2 separate regions of the Homo sapiens genome follow, and region 1 is linked to region 2. The links are contacts of gene promoters, found by promoter capture Hi-C in blood cells and fetal thymus (Javierre and others, 2016). All regions are on one chromosome and are shown on one strand. The core of a region is centred on a gene start or on the middle of the fragment in contact, and the rest is flanking DNA. Distances in the headings are between cores, read along the strand shown.

The links. Contacts are between HindIII fragments. The CHiCAGO score rates a contact against its expected background, and 5 or more counts as called.
Region 1: a contact is called between a fragment that was not itself captured here and the fragment with the promoter of KIAA1191 in region 2, in 7 of 17 cell types (non-activated CD4 T cells, naive CD8 T cells, naive B cells and 4 more). The highest score is 7.2, in non-activated CD4 T cells.

What each region holds. Positions count from the first base shown.
Region 1 is chr5:176,643,042-176,646,760 of GRCh38, reverse strand. It overlaps EIF4E1B (eukaryotic translation initiation factor 4E family member 1B), which reads right to left. Exons shown (of 9, transcript NM_001099408.2): 4 at 3,495-3,679; 5 at 3,027-3,122; 6 at 2,322-2,385; 7 at 1,518-1,631; 8 at 1,245-1,384; 9 at 117-895. The coding sequence ends at 781. Among named protein-coding and RNA genes, the nearest start is that of TSPAN17, 2.6 kb to the left of the region's middle. RefSeq lists enhancers at 379-673, 944-1,454, 2,036-2,675, 2,676-3,317. The HindIII fragment of the contact is 4,593 bases long and covers 166-3,719 here.
Region 2 is chr5:176,360,159-176,364,003 of GRCh38, reverse strand. KIAA1191 reads left to right here and starts at 2,240. Exons shown (of 9, transcript NM_020444.5): 1 at 2,240-2,402. RefSeq lists an enhancer at 2,165-2,484. The HindIII fragment of the contact is 14,901 bases long and covers 1-3,845 here.

The DNA of each region.
Region 1 (3,719 bases), core at 1,213-3,712, 280 kb before region 2:
TCCTTGGTACCCAGTGATCTCACATGAGCCCCTGTAAGACAGGACAGAGGCAGATCAAAGTTTGGGGGAACCTGAATCTTACTCCAGTTTGAAGCCCTCTTAAAAATAATTCCAACTTTGTTCAGAAGTATTTATTTAAAACAGGAACAGAAAGATGCTTAAGCTTTTATTATCAAGTTTATCCACTTCCACCACTTCTACCAGAACCTTGGTGAGGCCTAGCCCAGCATCCCTCCACCTCCACTTCAGTCTGGCCCTGAGGCAGGCAAGGCCCAGACAGCCCTGGTCACAGCTGGGGAGAAGGGGAGCGGCCTTGCAAGGCTCTCTCAGTCCTCAGCAACCCACGTATCCCTCTGTACAAATGATGGCGTTCACCCTCCAGAATGTCTGTGCCCTTGAGCCCACCACCCATGGAAGAGTCTGTCTCTCAGGCCACCTCACCTCCTTCCTGGGTGGAAACAGTAAACGCTGGACTATGGGTTTCTCCGCCTACCATAGAGCCCTCCTTCCCCGCCATGACTCACCCCACCCTCAGGAGTTTTTTCCACCCTGCTGCTGTCCTGTGGCCCCAGGACAAGCTAGGTCCTCAGACTGCCACCACTACCCCCATCTAGCCCCTAAGGCTCAGGCCCCAACTCATGTTAAAGAGTGTTTGCATTCCTGTTCACTTGAGGACAGGTAAGAACTAGGCTGTCTGATCCCCAGTCCCGCCCCATCCCCCAAAGTAATGAGGCTCAGTGGCGGCTGTCCCATTACATAGGAGGGGTGCCAAGGCCCCCCTCACACCACAAACTTGTTCTTGGCTAGGGAGTTGCTCTTGGTGGCTGTGTCTGCATGGGCCTGGTACCCAATGATGGTCTTTGGGGAGAGGCCCAGGCGCTCTTTGTATACACGCCTGCAGGTGCGGGGGACACAGAGGAAAAGAGACACAGGTAGTCATCAGAGGGTCCTAGAGATAACTTAGGCCACCAGACTCCTACCCTCATTCTGGCCACAGCCACACCTGTTGTGTCTTACCCATGTGGAAACCCAAAATATGACCCCCTTAATGCAAAAGGAGAGCTGCACTGCCGTAAGAGAAAGTTAGAAATCTGAACGCCAGACCTTCCATACAGGTGGGCAAGGCAGAAGGGAGGGAGGCTATGGAGACTTTCAGAGGTCTCCCATGCAGGCCAAGCCCCCTCCACCCACCTTCCCTCTAGCAGAGACCCAAGTCCCCACCCTGTGCCAGAGACCCTCCTCACCCAACGTGCAGCACGCCCGCCTGGTTTTCCGCCTCCCTCGTCCACACAGCGATCTTGTCCCCCTTGGTGCGGATGTTGACGACGGCCCCACATACCTCTCTGCTGTGTTCCTCAAAGCTCTCCCCGATCAGACACAGCAGCTGGACCCGAAGTAGGGGGTTGTGAGATCACCGGCTGGGACATAGGGACTGGCCTGCCATCCTTGAGACCACTGCCACCATGAGACCCACACAGCCCGTCTCTTCCCCTGAGGACCCTCCTCCTCCAACTCACCGTCTCCAGCCACAGCCGGTCCAGCTCAATGTGGCGCTGCTGCTTGGCCAGGCTGACCAGCCAGCGGCCACCCCGTTTATTCCTGCTGTCCTCCCACATGGGCTGGATGCCATCCTGCAAGGCAGATGGCAAGTCAACTGCCTCCCTGTGTTCAAAGGGAAATGGGGACCCACCCACCATCCCGGCCTTATCCGCTCTCTGCTGAGGCCCTAAGTAGGCCAGATTCTCTTATCCTCCCTTCCCTCAGTGCAAGCAGGTTCCACCCCCAGCCACTCAGCTCCCCCCGACAGACAGCACTGGTCACCTTGTATAGCCTTGTATATGTGCATGTCTCTTTTACTGAGTTCCTTAAGACAAGCATTCAAATCGGGGTGGATTAAGGAAGCCTCAGGGGCAGACCCCAATGCAGGCAAGGGGGACATCCCAGGCTTGGCTGCATGGTTCCCAGGCAGGGCAGAAGTCACTGGGGAGATCTCTAAACACAATGTCAGCCCTCCAGGGATGGGTGTGGCATCAATGAGTGTCCTCAAGCAATTCTGATGCCCTTCCCTAGTTAAGGAGCCAGGTCAGAAATCTCTCCCTCTCCCTCTTCCCGCCTCTTAAGGTCCTCCAAGGTGCGGCTTGGGCCTGACCTACTCTGTCCGGGCTCCTGTAGAGCATTTCCTCCAGTCAGAAACCACAACTCTGCTGAGAGGTGGCCCGTAGCTCCCCACCCCCACCCCTCTGAGGGATTAACGCAGTGGAGTCCGGGAGGGATCAACCCCTTGTCCCTTTGCGGGAGGGAAAGAGGAGAGCAGAGCTTACCTTGAAGAGGGCGTAGTCACAGCCAGAGGAGAGCTTGCTGGCCAGCTGGATGTGACTGTATAGCCTGGACAGAGCCCCCGACCCCATGCCAAAAGTCAAGGCTTTTTAGGGCCTGGTTCCAACTGGGTTCAGCCCTCCCAACTCCTCATCCGACCCCATGGCCTCCAAGCCTTTGCTTACACTGGCCTGCCACCTGGGATTCCACTCCCGTTTATCCAAACTCTCAAGACCCACCTTTTCCACAGAGCCTTCCCAGTGAAGGCTGAGCCAACCCCTGGGGAGGGTTTTAGACCCCCTGGTGCTCCCCCCTCCAGCTACAGCCGAGGCCTTCTCACCCTCCCTAGGGCTTGTGTAGCCCTTTTCAGAGCCACTCCCGTGAGCACCCGGACACTGAGGCAGCCGAGTCCTCCCTTTGCAGCTGAGACAGGTTCAGAGAGGGGAAGGAACTTGCCCAGGTCACAAAGCCCTGGAGTGGCCGAGTCAAGGTCAGCTTCCTGCTTCTCCTGCTCCCCAGGCTCTCTCCCTGAGCCCAAAGAAGGTGGTGGGGTGGGGGGTGGTTGTGCCCTATACCCCCTGGGCAGAACCCACAAAGCCCCAGCCCTCACAAAGGCTGAAAGGCCCTAGGGAGGGCTGGCTCAACCCGGAGAGAGGGAGCCCAGAGCTCAGAGCCCCCCAACTCTAGCCCCACTGGGGACAGACACTCACGCCCAGAAGTCCTCCACAGTGTCCACCTTGGTGACCAGGTGCAGGTTGTCCTGCCAGGCCCGGCTGCGGTCATTCTTGAAGAACCACAGAGCCCACCTGGTAGGGGAAGGGGGAGGCAGCCAGGAGGAAGCAGAGAGCCAAGTCCACCCCCGGGGCACCTGGACTGACAGGGAGGACCCTCCCCTTCAAGGGCGAACTGGGAGATGAGATTTGGGGCACAGCATTCCCCTCTCAGGTGAATGAAATCAGTTGTCCTGAAGGGCAGGGGAGGAGTGGGGGTGTTTGACCCACAGTCTCTGCGGGGTTAGGGCTGGAAGGGCCAACAGGGCCCAAGGCTTAGGTCAGCCCTGGCCTCCCACGGATGAAGAGCTAGGGCCAAGAGAGGCGGGGTTGCCCAAGGCCACGCTGCCAGCACAGAGGCTGGCCTGAAAGCAAGGGGCTGTGTTCCACTCGCAGGCTCCTGCCTACCTGTTCTGCAAGGGGTGCAGCTCCAGCTTGACTTCCATGGGGCCCCCCGTCCGGGCCTTCCCTCTCAGAGACAGCAAAGTCCTGGGAGAGTTTGGAGACTTTTCTCCTGTGGGCGTCCTCTCTGCTGCCTCCTCCTCCTTCTCCTCCTCCTCCCACTCTCGGATTCCACCCTCAGCTTCACTCACCTGAGCCAAAAAAAGGAGTCAGGATGGGTTGTGAGCTCTG
Region 2 (3,845 bases), core at 991-3,490:
CGGGCGTGGAGCCGGGCGTGGTGGCAGGCGCCTGTAGTCCCAGCTACTTGGTAGACTGAGGCAGGAGAATCGCTTGAAACTGGGAGGCAGAGGTTACTGTGAGCCGAGATTGCGCCACTGCATTCCAGCCTGGGCAACAGAGCGAGACCTTGTCTCAAAAAAAAAAAAAAAAAAAATGTTTACAGTCTATTATTTGTGGAAAAGAAATAGGTGCTCTCACATAGGTGCTATGCACCAAGACCATGACAGCTTCAGACATTGGTACCACAAATATCAGGGATAAAGTTTTTTTTTTTTTTGAGATGGAGTCTCACTCTGTAGCCCAGGCTGGAGTGCAGTAGTGTGATCTCAGGCCTCCCAAAGTGCTGGGATTACAGGCATGAGCCACCACACCCAGCCAGAAATAAATTTTTCAAAAGAATCAATGCCGGAAGAAATAAGATGTAGCTAAAACATCACTATCTGGGAGGAGAGGAGCATATATATGTAGTCAAAGGGAAAGGGGGACAAATCAGAAGGAATAGGGGCTGGGACCCAGAGCCAGGGGTACAGAGGAATCGCGAACTAAAAGGAGGTGAAGAGTTGAGACAATATAAAGGGAAAGAGGTAGCCCTGCTGGGCCCTGAGAGCCACAGGCGGTCTCTCAACCCATGTACCCTACAGCCAGCCGTACATGGCGTCACCCCTCTGGAGAGCCAAAAGAACCCGACTGCTGTACTCAGGTCGTTTCTCCTGTTCTTCCTCCTCGTGCTACACACGTGGAAGCCTTGGCAGTCACTGGGGGTACCTAGGACAAGGCAGACTGCAGCCTCCGTCTCCCAGGTTCAAGAGATTCTCCTGCCTCAGTCTCCAGAATAGCTGGGATTACAGGCACCTGTCACTACGCCTGGCTGATTTTTGTATTTTAGTAGAGACGGGGTTTCGCCGTGTTGGCCAGGATGGTCTCGAACGCCTCAGCCTCTGAAAGTGTTGGGATTACAGGCCTGAACCACCGTGCCCAGCCAGAAAAAGTTGTTTTAATCAAATAGTAACTTCCAGGAAAGTCTTAAGTTTTCATGTATTTGTGGCTAAGAAATAAATGAGATGATCCCACCTTATGATCTACATAAGGGTGCAAAGTGCTATTTCTTCCTTTTCTGACTGAGAGGTGATATACATCCCTTCCTGTGGTGGATAAAGAGCAAGGTGCCAGCTTTGCTTCCACAGAGGTTAAAAAATATGGCATATTTTAAAAGCTCCAAATTAACAAAGGAACACCTTTAACACACACACGCACGCACACATATACACACAATTATACTGCAATGTAATTGTGCTGTTGATAAGCTAATTATAGAATTCATCAAAGACTTTAATTCTTAGTGCACTCAAGCACCCTGGTCTGGAAACAGCGCTTAAGTTTCAAGTCGCATGAGCAAGGCCTCTCAGTTCTGCCAGTACGGCTGGAAGCCTCAAATGCTGAAATCTAAATGTGACATTCACCCTGCACCACCAATCATAGCTCTCCTGAGATGAGTTTTGATGGCGAGCTTTGGACTGGGGTAGAAACGTGGATAGATTTTTGCAAATTCTGCTGTAACTTCGTTGCTTCGCCTTCTTTGTGAACCCTTCAGGGATAAGAGAAGTCTTCCTTCAGGATGTGACTGACACCTCAGCTGGCGCCTCTAAGCCTCACTCTCCTTTATGTAAAAGAGAAATGATATTAGGATCGCCTTCCCTAGGGGAGGCAGGTGAGGTCGGTTCCCTTTTTTGGTTCAGCTACTAGTACGAACCCTGCCTAACCCCGCTGTTTTGGGAGACAGTCCGTGCTCACTGCACCGCTTGCTAATCGAAGTGACTTCTCATCTCTCCCAGTCTCAGCTTCACCTCCGTGAAGTGGGAAAAACAGGATGACAAGTGCTCGCACTTGGCAGCCCTTTTTGAGCCTTGAGGGCTTGGGTTTGTGGGTGTCATTTTACTATGCTACCTCCGTCTTCCCTTAGCTTGTCACGGACCCAGGCACAGCACACGCGCTGAGGAAGTGGTGGTGAAGTGTGGCGTTTCCTCTCGGGGCTGGCGGATTCCACACTCGGAGCTGCGGCTCCACAACTCGCTGGGCGGCGAAGGGCATGGGGAGGGGGCGGGTCTCGCGATCGTGGACAACAACTCCCAGCATGCCCTGTGCTCCGCTGGGCCAAGTCTCGCGCGAGATCCCGCGGTCTCCGGAGGCTTTATCTGCAGTGCTGCCTGCCCGCTGGGTGGTACTGCTACCTAGTGGGTCTTGGGGACCTTCGAAATCGCCGCCGCTCTCACAATGGCTTGGGTCCAGACTGCGCCACAGCCTCTCGGGAGACGTGGGCCCTCGGAACCTTTTTAGTGCCGGACTCCGGGCCGCAGGCAGTCCCGCGGCAGCAGGATCACAGGTGAACAGATGGCGGGCCTGGGCCCTCCCTTGGGGCTGCGTTCTCTGGCGATCAGGAGGGGCGCTTCCGGCGAGGCCCGATCTCGGGGCCCCTCCAAGCCACTCCCCTCTCCCCGCACCTCTTAACCCTTCATCCCGGCTTCGAGCTCGGCTGGGTCGCCTCTTGCCTCCCTGGCTCCGCTCTCTGGGGTCTCCGTAATGGGGCTTCTCTCCGGGAATGCCCTGCAGCTCCCGTACGGGCTTCCCCTCCGCTTCGTGGGACCAGCCCAGCCCGAGCCCCCGCGGCTTGTCCTCAACCTCATCTCCCCACACCCCGCCTTCGGCTAGGGTCCTGGCCCTAATCTTAGCCTGGAGGGGTGGGTGAAGCAGCCGGCCTTTCGTATCCTGGCGGCACCGTCTTGTATATTGTGAAGGAGAGGCAGAGGGACGGTGAGCTGGGGGGTGGGGGCACAGGGAAAGGGAAAGGGGAAGGGGACGTGTCTGGGGCGGGAATGCTCCCTGGACTGGGAGGATGGCTGAATTCGGCCTTTGCGATGCTCGTTAGTGAAGAACTATCAATAACTTGTTTGCTCTGTCTGAGTCCTATCGGGATAGAGGGACGGTGTAGCAAGCTGAAAAACAAGAGTAACTTTCTCAGGCCCTCGTTTTAACTCCCCTGTAAACTGGGCATGAAACTACCTACCTTGCGCACGGACCACTTATCTGTGACCGTGGACAAATTTACTTAACTCCTCTGATTTTTAGTTTCCTTCTCTTTATTATTATTTTTAACATTTTTTTAATTTTTTTAATTTTTATTTTTGAGACCGAGTCTCACTCCGTCGCCCAGGCTGGAGTACAGTGGCTCGATCTCGGCTCACTGCAACCTCCGCCTCCCGGGTTCAAGCTATTCTCCTGCCTCAGCCTCCCGAGTAGCTGGGATTACAGGCGCCCGCCACCATGCCCGGCTAATTTTTGTATTTTTAGTAGAGATGGGGTTTCACCATGTTGGCCAGGCTAGTCTCGAACTCCTGACCTCAAGTGATCTGCCCGCCTGGGTCTCGCAAAATGCTGGGATTACAGGCGTGAGCCACCGCACCCGGCCAGTTTCCTTCTCTTTAAATTTGGGATAGCCTTTCTGTAAGAGATAGCTTAAAAAAAAAACTGGGGTCGGGCGCGGTGGCTCACGCTTGTAATCCTAGCACTTTGGGAGGCCGAGGTGGGCGGATCGCAAGGTCAGGAGATCAAGACCATCCTGGCTAGTGCGGTGAAACCCCATCTCTACTAAAAATACAAAAAATTAGCCAGGCGTGGTGGCAGACGCCTGTAGTCCCAGCTACTTGGGAGGCTAAGGCAGGAGAATGGCGTGAACCCGGGAGGTGGAGCTTGCAGTGAGCCAAGATCGCGCCACTGCACTCCAGCCTGGGCGACAGAGTGAGACTCCGTCTCAAAAAAAAAAAAAAAA